Regions from separate parts of the Homo sapiens genome. Here region 2 is linked to region 1. The links are contacts of gene promoters, found by promoter capture Hi-C in blood cells and fetal thymus (Javierre and others, 2016). All regions are on one chromosome and are shown on one strand. Each heading gives the region's core, a stretch centred on a gene start or on the middle of the fragment in contact. The rest is flanking DNA. Distances are from core to core; before and after follow the strand shown.

The links. Contacts are between HindIII fragments. The CHiCAGO score rates a contact against its expected background, and 5 or more counts as called.
Region 2: a contact is called between a fragment that was not itself captured here and the fragment with the promoter of CSDE1 in region 1, in 2 of 17 cell types (non-activated CD4 T cells and monocytes). The highest score is 6.2, in non-activated CD4 T cells.

What each region holds. Positions count from the first base shown.
Region 1 is chr1:114,755,871-114,760,027 of GRCh38, forward strand. It overlaps CSDE1 (cold shock domain containing E1), which reads right to left and starts at 2,114. Exons shown (of 20, transcript NM_001007553.3): 1 at 2,055-2,114. RefSeq lists enhancers at 1,511-1,830, 1,666-2,659, 2,031-2,320. The HindIII fragment of the contact is 3,696 bases long and covers 1-3,498 here.
Region 2 is chr1:119,136,019-119,140,175 of GRCh38, forward strand. All of the region lies in intron 1 of WARS2 (tryptophanyl tRNA synthetase 2, mitochondrial), which reads right to left. Among named protein-coding and RNA genes, the nearest start is that of WARS2-AS1, 2.3 kb to the right of the region's middle. The HindIII fragment of the contact is 1,048 bases long and covers 1,194-2,241 here.

The DNA of each region.
Region 1 (4,157 bases), core at 864-3,363:
TTGTCGAAAGTATGGCTCTCACAACAGTTTCAATAGACTTAGTGCCACTGAACTGTACAATGAAAAACACTGGAACACTAAATTTCATGTTATGAATGCTCCAGCATAATTTGATATTTTAGCATTTTGTTTGTTTAAAACAAAAATCGATGGCCCTACACGATGTGTCTTCAGGTGGGGAGAAGGGAAAATAAGGGTAGAGGGTAAAGCCAGACTGCACGTCAGCTTTCACGCTTTCAATTTTGATTTGCTAGGACTTTACCAGATTTTCACCCACACTCGCTAAAGGTCACACTTAAGTCAGTACTTACAAAAAAAGAAAACCTATCTTCTGTGCCTCAAATACTTTAGTTTTCAACTCAGCTGCTATAAATAATCATCTCGATGGTAAACATCCAGAACAGCTGCAAAACCAAACTATTACCTTCTCTTTTATTTTAGTCCCAGGGCTAAAACGAAACAAAAAGAAGGCCAAATATTTATCTAAGTTTTATGACTCAGGTATATCCCTACTGAAGTATATAAAGCCCCTCCTTACCCACACCAAGGATATCCATTATTGGTTAGTACCAAAAGAAAACCAAGGTATGTATTATAGTGCTCCTCAATGCAATATCAAGAATGTTTGCCTTTAGTTACTCAAAATGAAAATTACTCAGCATTTTAGTATAGAGTAGCTTATATCTGTGGGCTATAATTTGAAACCTACATTCTAAAAAAGTAGGTTAGTAGCAGTGGCTGAGAACTGCCAGTTCATACCAGCCTGATGAAAATTTAAGCCTCTCAAAAAGATTTAACTACCACAGTGCCTTTGAGCATTCTCCCTCTCCGCCCTGTCTCCCAACTGTTTAAAGAGCGCCATATTCTTTTACTCATTTAAGGTGCAAAACACGAAAATTAACTTGCCCAACAACGTTCAGATATTCTTTGCAGATTCAAGCCTGTTTCAGGGAGCGTTCTCTGCTTCACCTGTGAGTTAAGCAAGACGGCCGCCATCTGGGTGTTTCTAAGGGAAAACCTTAAAGCAAAAGAACCTTGGCACTAAGATTTCGTATTGATAAAATAGCATGGCAAAAATTTGAAGCTGTCTCCGACGGGGGAACTCTAAAACATTCTACATAGAATGACGAAGCCAGGCCGTTCATTGCACAATGTGGGTGGGCCAGGCGCTGGCACCATGAGAACTACAGGAGGTGGAAGGGAGGACACTACTGAGCTTTCAGGGCGCACGCCCATTCCCCAAGATAGAGGGGTGGGAGCCACGTGCCTAAAAGATTAGGGACTGGTTCCCTTTCTCAAGACGCCGAAGGGGAGACAATGAGGGGAAGGTTGGGTGCTGAGACCCTGCTCTAGGTGACTGGAGTAACGATGTCAATTCCGCCACACTACTGTGCCAGATGTGGCTGGGGAAAGGTGTCTTTAAACACTTCCCCTAAGATATCTAGATGGAGCAGGGTCTCAGTCTATACACAAAGAAGGCGCCACTGCCGCACTGCGCTCTGGTACTGGTAGTCAGATTCCCAAGCAGGTAACGGCCAGGAAACTACAGGGTCCAGAGTCAAAGTAGGCCCCTCTTCTCGGTCTCAGGCTCTTCCAACCTCACACAAAGGACCGCGCCACCACCCCCTCGCCCCGCCCGCCGGGACATGTAGTTCCCGTTTCCCCAGACAAGCCGCAGATGGGGAAGCAGCCAGACTACAGATCCCAGCAGCCTCCGCGCCCGAGCCCCGCACCCTCTGCCTCCATCTTGGCTGCTGTCGGAGCCTCCATTTTCGCTCCCTCCCCCCACTTTAGTCACCACCACCACTACCACCACGCGCAGCCGGCTGGCCTCAACTCCTCGTTTCAGCTCTGCGACCTGACATGAGGCCCAGGCAGTTGAACGGGAGACGTATGAAAAAGCCCAGGGCAGGGAATCGGGGTGCATTCTTCCCCACCTAGAGCTCTACGAGTGCCCACCTTGACTCAGAAGGCTTCTCGTTAGCCTTGGTCTTATTCTCAGCCCTTCCCCTGGGTTTCTGCTACCCCCAGTTGGACCCTGAGGTCGTACTCACCCCAACAGCTCAGCGCCCCCTCTCCAGCGCCGCCATAAGCAGCACGGCCCGGTACGTAGGAATAAATCTCGCTTCTCTCGCGAGAGTTGCGGGCTCCGGGCGCGTGCACGAGAAGGGGCGGAGTGAAGCGTACTCTCAACACGCTTGCGCAGCAGGGCTAAGTGACGCCAAGCAGTTTGCTGCACTTAACCACAACCAACATGGTGGCTGCATTACATTACATTCCTTCTTGGGTGTGCTGCGGGAAGCAATCTCGGTGTTTACTGACTCCTCCTGGACACTAGGGGTGGCGGGTGGCTTTAGGCGTCTCTAGTCTTCGAGCGTTTGAATACGTTTTAGCCCACAATAATGGGGTAAACCTTGAAGGCCAACAATTCTGATGGCATATTCAGGAGTCATAAAAAATGATTTATCTTTTCCCAGCAAAAATCCGGAAGGACCTCACACTCGTTTCTTCTTATAGTGCAAGCATTCTTTCTTACGTCTACTGTTTTAGAGGAATTTCATTAGTATAGAGTCAGCTTTGTAGCAAGGTAATTTAGAAATCTAAATGAGACCTTTGTTTTCCACGAAAAACATTGCAACAGATGCACAAGAGTGAGCAAGGCTGCATAATCACTAAACAAAATGAAACAAATTCAGTCAACTGACCTTTCAAGTTACGAAAGATATTCCTGTTGTGTCAGGTAATCAAAGAGGGTGGATCAGTAATTAAAAGGTTGAAATAAGAGCAAAGAGATGATTCATCCAATGGGGGAAGAAGGAAGGAGAAAAATGGGTAATTATGACCACAGGAAGTTCAATGGATTATCCCCTGCCAGACAGTAGAGCATGCTCCTCTGGTGAGAGGAATGCTTTTCCCAGATTCAATGCTTCTGTTTTCACAGATTCACTGGCTCTCTCACTTGACAGTATTGGATAAATAATGAGCAGCCAGTCTTCTGAGAACTCTCCTACCCACTTTTTGCTTACAACACATTTATTTGACATGTTGTATGTGTAACCACTGGGAAGTATACAGTTGTAAAGAAAATCGGATATAGACTTGTCCTCAAGGAACTTTTAGTCTAGCATCATTGATGATCACAAAAACAAATCTAAACATACACATTGGAATAAGTGCAATGAAGGAAAGACAACCTTCAATTCAACCTCTTGAATTCTAAGAGGAGGCCGTGTCCCATTTCTGTTCAAAAATTTCCTCACCACCTTTGTTGCTGGTGTCCAGTCCCATGTATAACACCTCAAAACTGCCTTTTTGCTCTCTTTGATGCCTTCCCACGCTTTCCTAAGCACAAATATTTGCTTCATTTTCAATGCTTTCATAGCTCACTCTATTGTAATTATTAGTTTTTACTAGGTAGTAATACTCTAGCACAGAGCTTATGAAATTCATCTTTGCATCCCTGGTTGTTGACAGTGCCCGCTCTCAACAACTCTCAAAAGCTTGTTGAATAAATAGCACTGGACAACAGTATGATAAGTTGTTAGAAATTGGAATATATTTCTGGGAAACTACAGAATGTAAATTTTTTTTTTTTTCAGATGGAGTTCACTCGTGTTGCCTAGGCTGGAGTGCAATGGCATGATCTCAGCTCACTGCAACCTCCGCCTCCCGGGTTCAAGCAATTCTCCTGCCTCAGCCTCCTGAGTAGGTGGGATTACAGGCGTGCACCACCACACCCGGCTAATTTTTGTATTTTTGGTAGAGACAGGGTTTCACCATGTTGGCCAGGCTGGTCTCGAACTCCAGATGTCGTGATCCACCCGCCTCAGCCTCCCAAAGTGCTGGGATTACAGGCATGAGCCACCGCACCCGACCTAATTTTGTATTTTTAGTAGAGACAGAGTTTCTCCATGTTGGTCAGGCTGGTCTCCAACTCCTTACCTCAGGTGATCCGCCCACCTCGGCCTACCAAAGTGCTGGGATTGCAGGCATGAGCCACCACGCCTGGCCCAGAATGTAAATATTTCAAACCAGCTGTTTTGTTTAATTCACCCAGTTCTTAAATCGAGATCTCCCCTTCCTGCAATACAGCTGGTCTGTGTATTCTAATCTAATGTTATAGAGAAACTGTACCAGGCTCTTGCGCTAGATATGAG
Region 2 (4,157 bases), core at 468-2,967, 4.4 Mb after region 1:
GCTTCGGCCTCCCAAAGTGCTGGGATTACAGGCGTCAGCCACCGTGCTTGGCCAATAGATGTTTAAATAAATAAATAAATAAATTTGTATAAAAAATATATATTTGTCTGTGTGTGTGTGTGTGTGTACATATAGTTGTAGAAGCTTCTGCAGACAGCTCTTCTGTAACTTGCAGTCATTCGAAAGATATACTGAGCAAGAATTTGGAGGTCAGCAGCATCACTCTCTTCAGCATTTCCAGGCCATGGCTGCCGTACTATCTGCTAGCATAAATCCTCAGCATTCAGCTACAGTTCTTCCTTCCTCTATATTTTCAACAGTTACTATCAGTAGTTTTCATTAGCTCCTCAAAGCTATATTGCAAAGAATTTAAATATTATTATCATTTTAATAAACTAGGTCAGTTCACAAAAGCAACCAACCACAAAAGCACTTTAAACAAATAAGACTCACCGACTGAGATTAAAAGGAGCTTTAGAGTGGATCCACGCAACACCTTTTTTTGCCATGAGAGATGAAGTAACCTCATCAAACTGGCAGAGTAATCAACTAGCAAAATTCCCAGATGATTGTAGTAGCTCTTGAACACATACCATGCTGATTAGCTCATGTTGCATGTTGCATGAACAATACATGGCAGAGAAAAGCTAAAAGTCAGTGGGAACACTATGCCAATTTAATGTCATTAACATTCCAGAAACCTACAATAACAAATACTAATTGCAAAATATGGAATGAAATGCCTACATTAAATCTTACGATCCTAATTCCACCATTGTGTGACATTGGGCAAGTTACTTAACCAAAGACTATTTCTTCACGTTTGAAATAAGGTGGCAATACCTGCCTCAAGGCCTTGTTATGAACAATATCTCTTCGTGGTATTCTTGCCAAAAATCCATAACCTCAGTCTAAACACAAAGAAAAATCAGACAAACCTAAACTGAGAGACATTCTACAAAATAACTGACTGGTTCTCTTCAAAAGTGCCAAGGTCATGAAGGAGAAAATGTATGCATTAGAAGAGACATGAAAGCTAAATGCATTGTGGGACCCTGGATTTGATCTTGGACTAAGGAAAGGGACAGTGAAAAAACTAGTGAAATTTGAACTAAGTCTGTAGCTAAATTACTATTATTGTACCAATATTAATTTCTTGATTTTGATAACTGTATTATGATTATTCAAGACAAAGCTTGGTGAAGGGTATACAGAAATTCTCTGTACTAATTTTGCAACTCTGTAAATCTAAAATTATTTTAAAATTAAAAAAATTTAAATCTTGTGAGAATTAAATACAGGGTCAAAAATTTTAAACCACGCTTTTTTTCTTTTTAGGCGTAATTCTTCATCTAATGGCTATACTTAGCGATAGTTAACAGCAAGAACATTATGTGAATACTGGCCAAACCCAGACTAGGAACCGCTAATAATGAAACATGTTCAACTGCAATAAAATGTGGACACTTTATCATACTTCAACTGAATAACAAATACTTTTGCAAAAATCTACTAACCATCAATATTTCACTCTTTGCACAATACAATCATGACTTAGTGCTTAAAGAAGTATGGATTCTGTGTTTGGCCAATGATGACAGGCTTAAATTTACCTAATACCATCAACATTTAAACAGAACATGTCAGATCTTAACTCCTCTGACTTTATGACTACGCTCATCTTGTCAGATTTCAACAGTTTTCTGTCAGGCAACACCTGGCAAAATAAACCGTTTTCATATAAATTGTAGACATCCCATAATGAGTATGGAGTGATGTGCTGTTATTCCTGTTTCTCCCTGTTTTATTTTCAACTTGAGTTTACATCTGCATCCTCTGAGATAAGCAAAGATGCCCTATGCCAACATTTTTACCCAAGATTTTGTTTTAAAAAAAGAAAACACTAAAAACCATTAAAACAACTTAGGAATCACAACACTTTATTAGTTAGAGTTTCTAACATAGCACTGTTATGGCTCATTCACTTTTGCTTTACACCTAAGGGAGTAAGTGCACAGCCAAGGCTAATAAAAACTAACTTGGCTATTTCTTGGTTTTTGATGGAACCATTCATATGATAAATATACATTTTTTCCCATTATACTATACTCTTGCAAAATAATTTTTTTCTACAAAGGTTATGAGATATCATAAAAATGTCTAATGCATCTGGTTTAAGAATCCAATGCCTCTTTCACATATTTCTGCATCTGTTCACAAAATCCCTTTGACTTCAAAGGAAGCTTTTCAAGAGAAAAAGAAGATACATACAGGAAAAGTGGCCATAAATTTTTAGTAGTCCTTTTCTAAGGCCATTTTAATAACAGCATTGTGGGACAAGTATCTTCCTCAGAATCCTAAAATATCACAAATGATATTAATGACTAAAGATCTGTATAAAGATTTATGATTTCAAAACGTTTTTCTGGTTATTAAAAAGTGTGTGTCTTCAATTTAGACATGTGAAAAATATGTAATGCTATAAAAGGAAACAAATAACTTTTAACCCACTATTTAGGAAGGCCAAAGCAAAATAAAAAAGTTAAAAATGTTTGTTCCCTTCCAGGCTTTTTTTCTATGTATACGTTTATATAAACACTTATATATAAACATAACATCGTAATAACACTATGAACACAATTTTGTATCTTTTCTCAGTCTTTCAAAAAACCACATTAATCTTTCAAACCATCATTTTCAATGACTGAAATTATATGTAGATTTATACTTTAAAAAAATACTCTCACATTTAATACTTATTCTACTCAAAGCTAAATTAAAGGTTTAGAAACATTCATCGGTACTGGAAATTCTACATCTTGAAACAATCTAGATTAATAATTAACTTTAATAGCCCTATTCATAAATGCCACTGAAACAATAGTAGAGGTTTAAGAAATTTTTTCTTTAGCATTTATAATGACTTAGTGTCTTAAACTTCCCTGGGCAGTCATTAGCAGGCTGCAGTTTGTCTTTTTTTTCTCTCTCTCTTTGATTCTCTATTCTCAAGACATCTTCAATTCTTTAGTTTGGAATAAGGGGAAGTTTGGGTCTACGGCTTAGCTACTTTGATAGCATAGGTGTTAATGTGCTATAAATTATAAATAATCATCTCATTCTAGTTCTGCAGAATCAAACCCTCAAATTTCAAGGAGAGGAATTTTTGATAAATTTATCTAATTTTGAATTGTCTTACCTAACATTGCTGCTGAAATTTAAGGTGACATTTGAATAGTTGTTTGCTGACAAGCAGCTTTCCGGTATATATTAATATATTAGCTTATAAGAATTTTGTGAGGCTCACATTAATAAAAAACGGAAGTTCAAAAAATTTATGACATGACTAGAAAAATAAGTTGAACTTAAATTTTGGTTTTCATAATTACTCTCATTGGCTTTGTTTTGGCTTCATAATCATGGAACTATAGATTTTCCAGAGGTTGAAAGAACATTAACGTGTCAATCAGTCCAGCTCTCTTCCTCCACTCAATATGAGCAAAAAAAGAAGAAAAGTCCCAGAGAGATTGTGACTTGTCACACAGCTGTCAAGTGGCAGACCAAACCCTTGACCTCTAGGCTACCTTCCTGTCTAGCGCTGTTTTCAACACAACAGTTACAATAGGTGCGACATCCTCACACCTACTCATTATGGCAATACATATGCAAATGATGCCGGGAAATTACCTAATAAAATCACATTCTCTCCTTTCTCTCTAGTTCCCAGAATATATCTCCCGTAGATAAAGTATGTCAAAGTGCTTGCCACTGAGACTGTACTTGGAAGACGTTTGGTAAAATCCTGAATAACTGAAAGGGTATCCCCTCCCCCTGACTTTTTTGCTATGAGGGTAAAATTCCAAATATTTAAGACAATTCCCAATAAGACCAGGCCGCGACATGGTCTCCGTACGACGAGATTAATGGTAACAGCAGTGTTGTCAAGCGCAGGACAGGACAAACTCTGTAGCAGCTTGCGGTCACTCTTTCACAGCCTGCTAGATAGAGCAGTGCTGTGGAGCCACCAGGAGCAACCAGAATGGAAGATGCACTGACACTTGCTCAAGTACCACACTGCCAACCTGCTGCCCCGACCCAAGCTGCCCAATGCCTAACAAAACTTCTCTACTCTCTCCGATAGCCCCTTAGCGTGTTGTTAG